Linked DNA regions of Homo sapiens: region 2 is linked to region 1. The links are contacts of gene promoters, found by promoter capture Hi-C in blood cells and fetal thymus (Javierre and others, 2016). All regions are on one chromosome and are shown on one strand. Each heading gives the region's core, a stretch centred on a gene start or on the middle of the fragment in contact. The rest is flanking DNA. Distances are from core to core; before and after follow the strand shown.

What was found. The method cuts DNA at HindIII sites, captures the fragments that hold promoters and counts their contacts. A CHiCAGO score of 5 or more calls a contact.
Region 2: a contact is called between a fragment that was not itself captured here and the fragment with the promoter of PDE4A in region 1, in 11 of 17 cell types (total B cells, erythroblasts, M0 macrophages and 8 more). The highest score is 7.5, in total B cells.

The regions. Positions count from the first base shown.
Region 1 is chr19:10,418,460-10,422,013 of GRCh38, reverse strand. It overlaps PDE4A (phosphodiesterase 4A), which reads right to left and starts at 1,476. Exons shown (of 15, transcript NM_001111307.2): 1 at 930-1,476. The coding sequence starts at 1,249. RefSeq lists enhancers at 434-623, 1,804-2,683 and silencers at 834-883, 1,114-1,583. The HindIII fragment of the contact is 23,098 bases long and covers 1-3,554 here.
Region 2 is chr19:10,696,430-10,699,763 of GRCh38, reverse strand. No RefSeq gene overlaps it. Among named protein-coding and RNA genes, the nearest start is that of QTRT1, 3.3 kb to the left of the region's middle. The HindIII fragment of the contact is 680 bases long and covers 1,248-1,927 here.

The sequences.
Region 1 (3,554 bases), core at 227-2,726:
ACACAGTCACACTACCCTGGAAATACACAGTCACACTGTCACAATTACACTGTCCCTGGAGGACACAGAGTCATCGTGTCACCATCACAAGACCCCAGAAGCTCACACAGAGCACACAACTGAGGTAGCCACAGCTGGTCATACCCGGACAGCTGGAGCAAACGGAGGTCAATCGGAGAATACCCTCAGAGGAGACCAAGCTCAACACACATGCACCCTCACTATGCTGTCACCTCTGCAGTCAGGGACTCCTTCCCTCTGTGCTGGGACTGCGCCCCCCCTCCACTGTTTCCTGCCTCTGAACAGCTACTTAACGCTAACACTCTTGCCCTGAGAGGGGAACTCCAATCTAACGCAAGGCTCCCAAAACAGTGCTCCCCCAAGAGGCACCCTCTGGATTTCTGACCCCAGCTGCTGCAGGAGGAGTCCACTAACATCCCCGCAATAGAGTCCTCCATCCCCTAGAAGGACCCTGAGAGCACCCCACCCTGAAGTAAAGATCCTGGTCCTAGCAGGCACCCCCTTATGGAGTGCTCCAAGAGTACCCCAAACACTGCGAATCTAGCCCTCAGTATAGTGCCCCCAGGAAGGTCCCTCCAAGTGGTTCCCAGCTTAGCAGCTGTTCTGCACTGTCACCAAGAATACAGACCCCTAAGTGTGCAGCCCCCTTCCCCAACCCAGACCTCGTTAACACCACGCGCAGCGTGGCGCCCCCTAAATGGACCCCAGGATGGGCTTCAGCAGGAAGCCTCCCGTAGAGCGCACAACCAGGGGCCAGGTCCCAGACGCCCCCGCAGCCGAATTCCCTCCGCCCCCGCCAGCCAAACCGACCCCACCCGCATCCTAGCGCCCCCTGCGGCCGGCAGCTCGAGTTGCCTCCTCCCTGCGCGCCCATCCGTTCCGCGCGCATCCGCCGCGGGGAGTCTTACCGCCTGCTGCTGCCTCCGCCCGCGCCGCCGCTGCCGGTGCCAGTGCCATGGAAGGACGAGGGCCAGGACATGCGGGTCGTGCGCAGGCCGGGCCGGTCGCTGGTGTCCATGGCATCGGCGCGCTCTATGGGCCGGTGCGGCTGCCGCTCCCGCTCGGCGCGCTCCGCGCTGTCGGAGTAGCCGCGCTGCTGGATACGGATGGGGGTCCGAGGCTGCCGCCACAGGTGCTGCGGGGGAGGCTTCAGGGTGGCCTGGCCCTCCCGGGGCCCGGGCAGTGACAGAGACAGGCTCCTTTCCGAGGGGACGGTCGGGGGTTCCATGGCGCCGGCCCCCACTTGCGCCCCAGGGGGCCCTGGCCCTTCCAACCTACACCCCGCTCAGCTGCGCGCAAGCCAGCGAGCCCAGGGCCCCGCGGGTGCGCCCGGCCGCGGTAGGGCCATGGCGCCCCGGGGACAGACCCGGGGGCGCTGCGGGCCAATCGCCCCCGGGCCGGGCTCTGCAGCTTCCTTTCGGCGCCTGGAGCTCTGCTCAGTGCCCGGCGGCGCTCTCCGCGCTCCGCGCTCCGCGTTCCGCGGCCCGCTCGGCGCCAGCCCCGGCTCCTCCGCCCCGTCCCGCCCCTCCCCGCCCCCCGCCCGCCGCGGCTGTCAGCGCCGCCCCCCTCCTCCTCCGTCCGGGCCAGCGGGGGGCAGCTACCTAAGGAGGGGGGCCCTTCCCGCCCACGCAGATCCCCGCTCCGGGCTGGGAGGGGGCGCTGGAACTCGTCTGTCTTCAAAGCACCCTGCTTGGCCGCGGCGCGCACAGGCACGAAGGAGTTAAACGGTTAATCCGATCTGGAAGCAGACACCGGACTGGTTGCCAGAGTGTCAGTCAGTCGGTCCATCATGGCGAGGGCGGAGTCCGGTGTTGGCGTGTCCTCGCCGCTACCCCTGGCGGGGGGCAGTTTTTGAGGAGTGGTCCTAGTGCCACCGGCGCGGTACCTGCAGCGGGCGGCGGCAGAGTGTGTGGGATCTCCTGTCTGTGCGTCGGAGGATAGTGATGGTGCGGGCCCGGGGCGGGATGTGCGCGCACGTGGCCTCTTCCGAGGGTTGTCTGTGTTTTCAGTGTCGGCTGGAAGTGTGTGTGCGCACGTGGTTGGCTGCTGTTGTCTGCCCGTTTCTCTGGATTTGGCTGTGTGTATAACTGTGTGTGTCTGTGGGTGAAGGATGTGTGCGCACATGTGCTACCTATTTGGAGGATGTGCATCCCTACGTGGTCTTTTTTCAGGTGGCCTGGGGACTGTGAATGTGTTCTCAAGCGCTTGGATGCGTTTGTGGTCGGTGTGTGCTTGCGGAGTTGTGCACGCGATTCGGCCTCTGTCGTCTGACTGTAGTGTCGGAGGACGTCTATGTATGTTAGTGTGTGCGTGTGCGTGAGTGTATGTGTGTGGTCGGCCTGGGGCCTCTGGGGTGTTTCTGGGGTGTGTCCCATTGGTTCCCTTGTGGCTCCAGGAAGACACCCTGTGGCGGATACCGCAGCTGCCGGCCCACCGCTCTATACATCGCTGCCTCTTCTAAAGCGCTTCTGCCAGAGGTAAACTGAGGAAGGTCCCAGGTAGCCGCGGAGCGCACCCCCGTGCCCTTTTCAGGCGAGTAAACAGGCGAGCCTCCTCCCTGCGGCCCCCGCCAGCAGAGCCCCCCTTCCGGCACCTAAATCGGGAGTCGCCGTGACTCACGCTCCCGCCTCCCCCAGCGCCGCGCCGAGCGAGCAAGCAGAGAGCGAGCGGGATCCGAGTGCGCCCCCATCCCCCTCAACCCCCCCAAGGATGGCTGCTGGGCGGGGGGAGTGCACGCGCCCGCGTGTCCCACCGCCCCCCCCCCCCACGCCGATAAGAGCTCGAACGCGAAACTGCTCTGCTGCGGGACCCGGGGACCAGACCCCTGCCCCCGTGCGCCCCCTGTCACGGGCTCCCCAGGGCACGCGATGCCGTTTGCCACCGCCCTCCCCCCGCGCCCTTCTCCTTATTTGAAAAAAAAAAAAAAAAAAAAAAAAGACTGCCGGTCTTCAACCCCCACAGCCACTTTTCTCCCCGCCAGAGGGGGCTCCCGGCGTGGGCGAACGCCGAGCAAAAACCGGCCCCCCCATCAGCAGCCGCCGGGTATTCCAAGGGCCAAAACTGTGTTCCCCACTTCTCTCAGGAACACCCCCCCCATTACACACTCAAAACGGCTTCTAGGGAATTTGCAGGGGCTGTGAGTTCTCCCCAGATCATATTTGAGAGTCCTGGGCTGGGCCAAATTCTTGGCGGGGTATGCTGTAACGTTGGTTAGAGATCTGGAAGCGGGTGGGAGTGCGTAATGTGAGGTGGGTGGGGGTGTCAGGACACAGCTGGGGTTGCAGAAGAAGGAGGAAACGAGGAGCGGTGGCCTGAGCTGGGGGATAAACTGATCTGGACCTGAGGCTAGTGGGATGGGCGTGGAGAGGTATAATTAAGCAGCTCCAGGGGCGAGAGACAGTCACTTGCTCTCCCTATCTGGAAATGAACCATTGGACCATGACGGAAACAGAGACCCTGGAACCCTCCAATTGAGTAGATGGGGGTGGGGGTGGATTGGAACTGCCGAAAGCGGTGACCAGAGGAGGGCATGG
Region 2 (3,334 bases), core at 338-2,837, 280 kb before region 1:
CCTGCCCACCAGCAAGCCAACCTCAGGGCCTTTGCACCTGCCTTTGTCTACAACACTCATCCTTTCTTTTCTATTTCTTTTCTTTCTTTTCTTTTCTTCTTTTTTTTTTTTGAGACAGAATCTCACTCTGTTGCCCAGGCTGGAGTGTAGTGGCACAGTCTCAGCTCACTGCAACCTCCGCCTCTCAGGTTCAAGCGATTCTCCTACGTCAGCCTCCCAAGCAACCGGGATTACAGGTGCCTGCTGCCACACCCGGCTAATTTTTTTTTTATTTTTGAGATGGAGTCTTGCTCTGCTTCCCAGGCTGGAGTGCAGTGGCACAATCTCTGCTCACTGAAAGCTCTGCCTGCCAGGTCCACGCCATTTTCCTGCCTCAGCCTCCTGAGTAGCTGGGACTACAGGCGCCTGCCACCACGCCCAGCTAATTTTTTGTATTTTTAGTAGAGACCGGTGTTCACCATGTTAGCCAGGATGGTCTTGATCTCCTGACCTGGTGATCCACCTGCCTTGGCCTCCCAAAGTGCTGGGATTACAGGCGTGAGCCACCGCACTCGGCCGTTTTTTGTTTTTTTTTTTTTTGAGACGGAGTTTTGCTCTTGTTGCCCAGGCTGGAGAGTGCAATAGTGCAATCTTGGCTCACTACAACCTCCACCTCCTGGGTTCAAGTGATTCTCCTGCCTCAGCCTCCTGAGTAGCTGGGATTACAGGCATACGCCACCACGCCTGGCTAATTTTTTTGTATTTTTAGTAGCGACAGGGTTTCTCCATATTGGCCAGTCTGGTCTCGAACTCCTGACCTCAGGTGATCCTCCCACCTTGGCCTCCCAAAGTGCTGGGATTACAGGTGTGAGCCACCGCGTCCGGCTAATTTTTGTTTTTAGTAGAGATAAGGTTTCACCATGATGGCCAGGCTGGTCTCAAACTCCTGACCTCAAGCGATCCACCCATCTAGGCCTCCCAAAGTGCTAGGATACAGGTGTGAGCCACCGTGCCCAGCTAATATTTCTATTTTTCAAAATGTTTACCAGGCGCAGTGGCTCACGCCTGTAATTCCAGCACTTTGGGAGGCCAAGGTGGGTGGATCATATGAGCCCACGAGTTAGAGACCAGCCTGGGCAACATGGCAAAAAAAAAAAAAAAAAAAAAGTTAAAAAATTACCCATAATTCCAGTTACTTGGGAGACTGAAGCAGGAGGATTGCCACAGCGCCTGGCCAATATGTGTTTAAGTCTGCTTCTTGCCAAGCTTTCTGTGTTATTCTGATGCCCACTCGTTTCAGAACCACTGTTTTTCACTCTTGGCTGCACATAGAATTACCTGTGGAGTTTTTAACTATCTCTATGCCCAGACAACTTAAACTAAAATCTATGGTGAGTAGCTTATGTACTTTGGGACGATGAAGTAGGAGGATTGCTTGAGGCCAGAAATTAGAGTCGCCCAGGCTAGGGTGCAATGGTGCGATCTCGGCTCACTGCAACCTCCACCTCCCGGGTTCAAGAAATTCTCCTGCCTCAGCCTCCTAAAGTAGCTGGGATTACAGGCGCCCACCACCATGCCCAGCTAATTTTTTGTATTTTTAGTAGAGACAGGGTTTTGCAATGTTGGCCAGGTTGGTCTCGAACTCCTGACCTCAGGTGATCCACCTGCCTCAGTCTCCCAAAGTGCTGGGGTTACAGGTGTGATCCACTGCACCTGGCCGATCATCTCTTAAAAAAAAAAATCTATGGGGATGAGACTCAGTCATCAATTTTCTTTTGTTTTTTGTTTTAAGCCTCAAGGAATTTCTGTGTGCAGCCAATGTTGCCTCTCAGTGGTTTAGGTTCCAAAAACAGCATTTCATTATCTTATCCAAAGTGAGTCTCTTTCTTTTCTGGGTGACCTTATCTTGGAGCTCTGACCTGCCTGCAATTCTTGGTTATCCAAAGCTTCTGGGATGTTGGAGGGAATCCTCTGCATTTTAGAATGCAATCACCATGATTGGATGAATGGCTGATTGGATTAAGGGTTGCCTGGATTTGCTGTTCTGAAGCTAGTATAGCCCCTTCTTTTCTTGGCCACCTAACACCTGACCCCGCTCATACACCCCTGCATTGAGAGAATGTCATATTTTTTAAGGCTAAGCCTGCCTTTCCATAGAAGTTATAATTGACAGTTACTTTCCCAGCCTGCCCTGCAGCCAGGCTGCACAAGGCTCAGGTTCTGCCATTCACAATTTGGATCAAAAGCCAGTGGTGGTGGCCGGGCACAGTGGCTCACACTTGTAATCCCAGCACTTTGGGAGGCTGAGGCGGGCGGATCACCTGAGGTCGGGAGTTTGAGACCAGCCTGGCCAACATGGAGAAACCCCATCTCTACTAAAAATACAAAATTAGCCGGGCATGGTGGCATATACCTATAATCCCAGATACTAAGGAGGCTGAGGAAGGAGAATTGGTTGAACCTGGGAGATGGAGGTTGTGGTGATCCGAGATCGTGCCATTGCACTCCAGCCTGGGCAAGAAGAGTGAAACTCCGTCTCAAAAAAAAAAAAAAAAAGAAAAAGAAAAAGAAAAAAGCCAATGATAAGGAGAAACAGGCCCTTGGGCTCGAAAACACTAGGGACAGGAGTTGGAGGCAGCTACATCCATGTCACAGAGATTCATGAAAATAAGAACAGTTTATGTCAAAACTGAAGCTACACTCAGGAAGTTTATAGGTGGTTGCACATCTGGTCTCCAGCCACAGTAATCCTTGTAGCATCAACTACAGTCTCTGTACTTAGTCATTGTGAGATTGGGCTATGTGTGGGGTTGGCGTTGGGGTACCACCACTAGCTGTGTAGCCCCTGATGCTGGTTCTCTGCCCCTCCTGGAGATCACTGTGCCACCTGACATTCTTCATTACACACTTTTCAAGCATAGACAAACGGACAGAGAATTGCATAGTTATCACCTTGTAACCAATGACCCAGCTTCAACAATTATCAAAAGAGGCTTAATCCACCCACTTAAACAAATATATTCTAGTCCGGATGCAGTGGCTCACGCCTGTAATTCCAGCACCTTGGGAGGCTGAGGCAGGTAGATCGCTTGAGCCCAGGAGTTGGAGACCAGCCTGGGCAACACGGCGAAAACCTCTGCTGTACTAAAAATACAAAAATTATACGGGCGCAGTGCTGCACACCTGTAGTCCCAGCTACTCGGGAGGCTGAGGCAGGAGGATAGCTTGAGCCCGGGAGGTGGAAGCTGCAGTGAGCTATGATCGCACCACTGCACTCCAGCCTGGGCAACAGAGCAAGATCCTGTCTCGAAAAAACTAAAAATAAAATTATATACATACATACATATAGAGAGAG